Regions from separate parts of the Homo sapiens genome. Here region 1 is linked to region 2. Evidence: promoter capture Hi-C in 16 types of primary human blood cells and fetal thymus (Javierre and others, 2016). All regions are on one chromosome and are shown on one strand. The core of a region is centred on a gene start or on the middle of the fragment in contact, and the rest is flanking DNA. Distances in the headings are between cores, read along the strand shown. Region 1 holds the start of LOC440982 (a long non-coding RNA gene). Region 2 holds the start of ZIC4-AS1 (ZIC4 antisense RNA 1).

Evidence for each region. Contacts are between HindIII fragments. The CHiCAGO score rates a contact against its expected background, and 5 or more counts as called.
Region 1: a fragment that was not itself captured here is called in contact with the fragment with the promoter of ZIC4-AS1 in region 2 in 1 of 17 cell types (fetal thymus); the score reaches 5.4 in fetal thymus.

The regions. Positions count from the first base shown.
Region 1 is chr3:147,418,081-147,422,237 of GRCh38, forward strand. It overlaps LOC440982 (a long non-coding RNA gene), which reads left to right and starts at 3,247. Exons shown (of 3, transcript NR_121655.1): 1 at 3,247-3,479. RefSeq lists enhancers at 1,068-1,217, 2,156-3,084. The HindIII fragment of the contact is 4,275 bases long and covers 1-3,766 here.
Region 2 is chr3:147,384,302-147,388,910 of GRCh38, forward strand. It overlaps ZIC4-AS1 (ZIC4 antisense RNA 1), which reads left to right and starts at 2,561. Exons shown (of 2, transcript NR_046703.1): 1 at 2,561-2,798; 2 at 3,018-4,605. It overlaps ZIC4 (Zic family zinc finger 4), which reads right to left. Exons shown (of 5, transcript NM_032153.6): 5 at 1,745-4,558. The coding sequence ends at 4,558. The HindIII fragment of the contact is 2,882 bases long and covers 1-2,847 here.

The DNA.
Region 1 (4,157 bases), core at 379-2,878, 33 kb after region 2:
TAGCCACGATAGTCTCTCTTTCGGCTTTTAACCACACTGTCCATCCTCTGTAATATGTACCATTTAAACTAGTTAGATATAGAAAGTAAGATTATTATGGGTAACCATATAGCAATTTTTAAAAAATGATAAGCACTATTTTGGGGCAAGAAATACAAAAAATGTTAACTTCTTATGTCACATTCAATCCTTTTCCTTAAAGTTTATTGCAAATACAATGGTGTAATAGGTGCAAAATATGAATAATGTTCTCCTTAAATCTATGCAAGGCTGGTTTGCTCCAGAGTCCCTTCCTTAGCAAGAGGAAACACATCAGGCCAAACCAGAGGCTATTTTTACTGTGGAAGCTGGGATCTGTCATCAGTTACTAAAGTTGATATCCACTTTAGAGTGAAGAACTAAAACAGTGTGAAGTTTCCAACTGATGTTATATACCAAAGGTGAGTTTTTAAAAAATCGGGTTTAGCTATCTAGAGTGGAAATATCACTTGGCAGTGAAGATGCCACAGACTGACATTGTGTCAACTGTCCACAATACTTTGGCTGCCTCTGATGGTTGTCAGACATCTCTGTAAGCATATCCAGGAAAATCCACCGGTTGTGAAAGTTACGCAGTGACATTTTCACCTATGGCACACACAAGAATCAACTATTGAGCGTGGGTATAAACATATTGGAATCACATCTTTAAAAACAACAATAGCAAGCAAACCCAAGCCGTCCGACCTTAGCAAACTTTAAAAAATTGTTATTTTACGTCTTTCTTTTGTGTAACAATGTCCATGAAGTTACAGTAAGCGGGAACACAAACGGTGAGAGAAGCTCGCATCGCGATTCCTTTTTAAACATTTTCCATTCATCCGCGAAAATGCTAGCCTCTGACTAAGAAAACTGAAAGTTGTGGAGAAAGGACAGGGGTGGGATGGAGTGCGTAAAGGGAAATTTTTGCATTGGTGGATTTATTGAAAGCATGGAAACAGTCTTCGGGGGTAGGTGTAGGGGGTGCAACAGCGAGACTTCCCCACAACACCTCCACCGAAGGCTGGGTCGTCAGCGTTTGAGGGACCCTCCCGCCACCCCGCAGCCTGGCGGGGCGCTTTCCAAATCGTCGCGGCAGGCTCTGGCCGGGCAGGGCGAGATGTGCGCATGCGCGGCCTGTGGCCCGAGGTTCCACGTGCTGATGAATATGCATGAGACTCCCCCGCCCTCGCGGGCTAGAGAGAGAACCAAGCAGAGGCTCCGGCCTGTGAAAGTCGCTGGCTAGGCTCCCAAAATAGTGCGGCGGGGTAGCTGCACGTGTTTGTTTTCAAACCGCGCTGGTTTAAGTGAGTTCACACTGCGGAGCCGACAGCAGAGGGTAGAGCAACCTGGGGCTGCTGCCATTGGAACGGCGAGTTGAGCGGGCCTGTCAGGGCCTCTCCGCCGAGGGCCGGGGGCTGCATGGTGCTCGAGCCCCAGCCGGCCACACCCCAGTGCATCGGGTGGCTGGGCTTCCAGTTTACACCGGGCCTACCAGGGAGGCCTTCTTCTCTTATCCTTTCCCAAGCCCGAGCTGCCGCCCCGGCTGTTCTCATATCCCTAGCCCCTCGGAGAAGACTTAGCCTACCCCTAGTCAGAGCTCAGGCCCCAGGTGACCGGGCAGCGGCTTGGGGGAGGTTCCCTAGGCCCTTCCCTCATCCCTTGCCCAGATCCAAGTCTGGGTGCCGGCTTGTCTTTGTCTTTCCGCCTCTCTCTCCCACTCTTTTCTCCTACTTCCTCTTGCTCTCTGGCATTTCCCCAGCCTCCCACCGCCCCATTTGAGATACTAGGAGCCATTTGCTTGAATGACTGTTCTAGGGTTTCCACTTGACCCTTTGCAAATAATACCAGTCAGCTTGCCTGTCTTGGAGTTGAAATGGTCCTGTTAAATCCAAACGTGCTTAGGTAGCGCAAACGTCGGGACTGGTGGAGGAACTGCCCTGGCCTAGAGACCAGAAAGGGTAGGGTTTGGTGAGAGACACCTGGGTTCAGTCGCTGGATTATTGCTTTCCTCTCTAGTGAAGTCCTTGGGGATCTGCATGGTATTTTGTGGCCAATGTGCTGACATTTCCAGAGTGAGCGTATAATCTTTCTAGGTGGAGTGGCCAACGCTTGTAAACAAAGGGGAGGGGCAACAGAGGGTCCCTGGGTCACTCTAACCTCTGACCGACTAACATCTACAGCCTTTGGGTGTTTTAGTAAGAATCCTGGGTCCCATAACATCAGAAGTGGTTGCCGACAGATTCCAATCCTACTCTAGATTTTTACTTTCATTTGAACAGGTAGACCCACTTTGTGGAGCTTATCATTTCATTTCCCTCACTGGGAACAGGATGCCTAGGTCAGTGCCGGGCTCACACTGCAGTCTATCCCAGGGCCAGTTCCATCTGTGCCAGTTTTGGAATACCGGGACCACAGTATCAGTTCACCCGACAACTACCACTCCCCAAGCCTTCAGCGTGGAACCTGAGGACGCAGGGAGGGAGGCTTTGGAAATGTTCCTGCCAGGACAGTGCCTTTTTTCCTACCCAAACTCCCGAGTCTCCGAGCTCAATAACGCAAGGATGGCTGAAGAGCGTCTGCTCCATGTCTCTTTGCCGGACTCAACGACCCTCACCCACTGCCACCGAGTGCTAGGCCCACAGAGGCCTGGCAGAAGCCACTCACCCCTCACTACTCATGACTAGGAAGAAAGTGGCCGGGGCATGAGGGTTCGAGTTCTGTCCTAGGTCCCGGAAGCCAGGGCTCCCAGCGTCTAGTCAGGGGCGCAGAAACCCTCGTTCCTCCAAACCCCCGCCACAGGGACCACTCCAGAAGAAACCCATTCGTGATTTGGGTCCCTTTGTGTTTGAGTATTGTGGGGAGTGGGCTATCTAGACTCTAAGGACTCCAAGCTAACGATGACCTGTGTGGGCCTTGCTCTGAACAGAAAACTCAAACTCAGCGTGGGTTCCCGCGTCTTCCCCAAAAGGCCAAGGCCCAAAGAACCCTTTTCATTTGGCGAGGGGCTTGAGGAAGGGAGGGGCTGGGGCGGGAGAGGGTCGGGGTCTGCAAGCCAGCGGCCCGGCGCAGCGGACTTGTCCGGCTGCTCAGCTTGGCAGCTAGCGTCCGTGCCGGCAACGCTGTTACCCTCTCCTGGGCTGGAGAGTGGGGACATCCCTTCCCCGCCCCTAGGCGTCCCTGGGGTCGGCGCCAGAGCCCGGGAGCGCCGGAGGCTCTGGCTGGATGGCGGCGAGGAGGGCTCTGAGTCCTCTCCCGGCCAGGCCGAGCTTAGTATGTGGAGGCGGCGGCGGGAGTGCGGGCATGGACCAAGGGAAGGGGGACACCCAAACCGCATTGGTGCCTTCCTTTCCCTCCACTCGCGCCGTAGACCTCCCCAAATTGCCCGTCTCCGGTATGACTGAATCTGTCTGCTGGCCTCTCAGCTACCAACTCTGCCCGAAATCTAGATCCCAGACCTGGTAAGTCGCGTTCCTCCCCTACCCCGCCCCGCCACCTTACTAGCGGACTCTGCCCGCGACAGCGTGCGCGCGCGTGGCCTGAGGCGCGCGCTGAGAAGTTGGGCTGATTTGGAACTGCTGCGCTAGTTCGGCCTCTGCCGCTGGGGTGTATACGTTTATACGCCGTACGCTCCAGGGTAGTCAGGAATGTCGCGGGGCTCCCCAGTGAGGCGGGAGCGAAAAGAGTGCAGGCCCACTCTTCTGGATCCTCTTGGCCCTGTTGACACCAAAGCCATCTTTTAAGAATAAGCTTTCTGCTGGTCTCTAAAAGGGGAAAGGGGCAGCGGGGGAAGAGAATTGTCCCTTTCCCTAAGCAGTTTCTAATCACTAAGGTCTTCAACAAAGTTTACTGGGCGGTTTCCATTTGAATGCTGTGAAATTGTTATTATTACTATTTTAAGTTAAGGTTTCTAAGAGTCACAGCTTCTCAAATATACGTGCCTCTTGAGGATGCTTCGACAATTACCTTGTCCACTAACTGCACTTCCTTCCCACTGGAAAAAATAAACTTAATTTTTCAGTAGTTGCCTTAGGTCACGTCGTTTACATGTCACTAATGTGAAGAAAGAAGTAAATAAAGAAAAACAACCTTGGCATTTCTAGTTGGAGCTCCGTGCGCTTTATTATTGAAATGTGAAA
Region 2 (4,609 bases), core at 1,311-3,810:
CGGGTAACTTCCCCAGAAAGCAAATGAGATAATTCTAGGGTGAGGCTAGCCAAGGGCACTTGGGGACCAGTAAATTCAACCCTCTGTCAAAGGTTACACTATTCAACTCTGCCAAACAATAATGACTCAAAGGAAATCTCACCTCTCCTAGTGGCTGGGGCACTGAGGTGTCTAAGAGCACTTTCTCTTTCCTCTTCTACTGCCTCGCAATTAGAACTTGGAAGGTTCAAAGACAGGCCTTTGCTTCTCCAAAACTCTTTCGCGGAATGTCAAGGACAGCGGAGTCTCCCGGGCACCCTGTCTTTTCTCTGCATTCTAGGGAATGATTTAGGCCTCAACTCCTGGGCGCCCTCTCGTGCAAGGCTTTCCTGGGGGAATGGGAAGGTGTCGGTAGAAGGGCTGGTATCCTCTCTGGAGCCATGGGCAGGCACAGCTGTGAAGACTCCAGGCAGCAGGATTGAGCGGAGAGCTCCGAGCCCCAGAAAAGCCTTGACTGGAAGTCTCGAGTTCATTCCTAATCCCCACCTGCTCCTCACCACAATGCTCAGTCGGTTAAAGAGCTTTAATGAGTGCTGTTTCTCAAAGAGGCCGGGTCGAGGAGAGGCCCCTCTAACCTGTCCGCGAGACGGAGGAAGGGGGCCCTTTCGCGAAATGAACGGGAGGGGGCGCTAACTCCAGTGTTAATGCCCAGGGACCTCCTTTCTCAGGGACATGTCTTGGTTTCCCCTCATGGCCTCCTTTATCACACCTGCGCGTCTCTCGCGCGCCGGGATCCTTTCTCCCAACGTTTTACCCAGGACTGCAGCCCTTGCCCTACGAGTTGAGTCTCTAGTGTGTTATCTAAGGAGACCCAGCATTCCCACCCCAGGAGTCGTTGTCTTCCCACTCCATCCAGCCCCTTGCTCCAACCAAGCCCACGGGAACCAACTCCTCAGGAGTTAAAAAAAAAAAAAAGTGTCAGGCGAACTGCTCACTGAGGTGGCTCCTGAGCAGTAGGTGCAGAGGCAACAATGTATGCGGGTATCTAGAGGTCCAGTGACCACGCAGTGGAGGAGGGAAGATGGCTCTGGTGATTCATTTGAAATAAGTCTCCCAGTGGCTGGGCCAGATAAGAGTGTGCGTGCATCGGATGCTAAAACTCACCAGATATCTCAATCGGGGCCCAGGGAAGTGTCATGTGGGCTGTAGCCTCCCAGTCTTCAGGCATAGGCCTTCGCGCAGGTATCTGAATGGAGCCTTGAGGTCTGAGCAATCACTTCTCCCAGAGGGGGCAGGGTCCAGCTAGGAAGATCTCTGCGGCCAACTGTGCCTCAGACACTCCACCAGCGCTTACTCAGGTCTTACAGCCGAACTGTCCTGTCTTTTTCTTTCCTTGTTTTGATTCCCACCAGCTATTGGACTTTTCTCTGGGAATTCAGGGGTGGTTATTTGACGTTGCTCTGAGCTGGAAATGTAGAAAGGTAGCCTTTCCTGGCAGACACTGAGAGGATCCTTTCAACTTTTTCCATTCTATAAAGTATTAATAAATTGGTTGATGATGTCAGTGCCATTAGGGTGAAATTGAGATGAGAGAAGTCTTTCTCACAATGGCTGCTTTAGGGGGTCCCTCCATTTTGCTGTCCTGAGACTAGGCCCCCAGAGATATTTGTGTGAAGCGGTGAAGAAAGACTGAGGAGAGAATTGGAGGCTTCTGGAGGGCCTCGAATCTCGTCCAGGATGAAGAAACAATAACAGGACACCAGGATTCAAAAGAGGAAGAGAAACATCACATTATTTATTTCCAAAGAAAATAGCCAAATGCAGCGCCATGTACACAAAAGCCTTTGGAGGGAAAAGGAATCACAGATTTAATATCATTTACATTTATATATTTACAAGATCAAGCCATGGCTTTCAACTTTGTTGTTCATTCAACAATCACTTTCAGTCAAACAACTTTTATTTTCAAGTTAGTTCATAATTTAACTGACACTAAAGAGACAGATGATAAATCACAAACAGTGTGGGTAGAGAGGGTACAAATAGTCTAAAGATTTCAGCCAGGCTTTTGTGTATATGTGAATTATGATTACAAAATGTTTGCCTGTCTGTATAATTCACATTCATTGCAATTATTACATTTTCTCATAAATTAGCAATATAAACAAACATATGGAGACCTTCAGTTAACAAATAAAATCAATATCAGGAAGAACATTTTGCAGCAACTATAATAACAGCATGGGTTACAGCTTGGAAAAACTTCTTTACAAGCCATTTATTCAGCACACACAGAGTAGGGGGACCAGCACATCCTTATTTATTTAAACCACCTTTAAAACCACCACAGGAGTTTTGGGGAAACCTGAACTGGGTGAAAGTTTCTTTGCTGGGCACAATATAAAATGAACAACTTCACACGTGAATGAAGGGAAGGATGGGCATTTACATGCATTTTCGATCACTGTGTTGTAGACCAAACCTTCTAAACTTCAATTGCCAAGATTCTGAAGGAAACAGGAAATTAATAAAATATCTCTCTCCTTCAGCTATTCTCCTTCTTATTAACGGCAGAAAGGGCTTGTTGATTGCTGCTAGTGAGAAGAAACACACAATGGGTCTATTTTTAGCAGAGGTGGCTTTGAAGGAGCAGGAGATATTAACAATTGCTTGGCTGCATTCTTAAGTTCCAAGGATCCTGGGCAAGAATATTAGGAGCCTGAGGGGTACCCAAAGGAAACCCATCTATGTGACCCAACTTGGGCTGATTGAATGCAAACCAGAGCAGAAAGAAGCAGAAACACAATTATGGACTTAGGGTATGTATTCTGCTTGCACCCTCTCTGCATTCTTTTCCTCATGTCCCAAAGCTTGTCCCGAGGGCCCCCCAACTTCTGCATACTTCACCAGACCAGGCCCTGACCCTGATGTCTAGGCATTGCTTTTGTTTATCCCTTAGCAAGACTTAGACCTAAAGTTATGTATTGATGCAGTGTGTGGATATTGTTTTAAAAGAAGTTTGATTTTTATCTCTTTAGAAACGGTTTGAAACTAACGGGGCAGAGGGAGTTTGACAGAGAGGAGAACAAATCGCTGACAAAGAACCTTTTACGTTTCATCAGCGTTGTTAGGACGACAAGCAGGAATGTCTCAGATAATAACTCCCACTTCAAAGATTTCTCAGCTCAATAGAAAGCGGACCATCCTTTTTATTCAACCACAAGGACTGGCACTAAAGAAGACTCCACTGTTTGATTTTTTTTTTCACTGTGTTTATTTTTCCCCTATTCACTGGGGTACTTGGATAAAATAAACAACAAGACAATTAAGGGAACATGGACTTCTAACTTTCCTGCCATCTTCCCCACATCCCCTTGGCCTTGGGCTCTTGAGTTTGCATCTAGGACTAGTCCAGGCCTAAGGGTACCACACACCCTGCCTTAGAAAGAAACAAGTTTCAGGGGCCGCAAGAGACTTTTGGGATGGAAAGGAAGAAGAGTGGCACGGAAAGCCAGAGTGGAAATTCCCAAGGGCACAGTCTGAACTCCTCAGACTCCCCCAGGGTGGCTCCCTTCCCCCCAAGTCGCCATTAAATTTAAGCCTCCATCCTACTCAAGAGTCAGAAAGGCGATTTGCACAAAACTGAGCTTGGAATGCTCATTTGTTAAGCTTCGGAGGCTGCTTTAAAATCTTTCACTCCTGATCCTGGAGCCTCTTTGGGGTGCAGTCAAGATGCACAGAGTCCTTGTGCTCCTCCCTTTCCTGAAAGTGTCCCCTGCGCCAAAGCCTCCCACATCAGGGTGCAGAGTGAACCCCTAAACGTGGGCAAGTCGGGTTCTAGAAAGGAAGTATATACTGGAGAGCGCAGTGACAGTATTAAATGGCGTGAAAGCAAAGGTCAGCGCAAATGTATCTTAATAGAGTGTCTGTAGTGAAGTGTGCCGCCTTTGAAGCGGCCGCTCCCCGCGCGTATTTCCATGGCGAGCCTAACGCGGCATGCTGATGCACCGTCAAACTCACACTTTCAACCCCAAAACCCGACTCTTTGAACAACCCGAGCTTGATTAGACCTTTCTCCTTTTCTTTCCCCTCTTACAAACCATTTCCTCGCCTTTAGAAACTCGCCATCAAACCCAAACGCGCCCTCTGATCACCGCAGAAAGCAGAAACAAAGGGGGCTGAGCGGCGATTCAAGCGGCTCTTTTCTTCCTTCACATTATTATCCATTTTTATTATGATCGGGTACAAGTGCCCATTCGCGTGGGTTTTGTTTACCGGAAATTAAATGAAAATGATTTAGTCCGCGTCAAACAAAAATATATACTTGTATACACAAGAAAAAAGGTCTGTTAGACGTAAATATTATGTCCTTAATGAAAAGCCTGGACGGGCTCCAGGCTTGGCCTTTCAGGATTTCAGTGCGACTTGCACATTGCCATAGAAATCCTAACTTACCATGAAGATGCACCGTGGCGAAGAAACACTGCTTTGTGCGCGGGCCCTTTGATGTAGCAGGCGCGAGATGCGGGGCGCTCAGCTGCGCGGAGCGAGATTACCTTGCGAGCAACGCGGTGGACATCTGTAACAAGCAAATGAAAAATTAAAGGCGATTAGTGGCCGACCAAACATT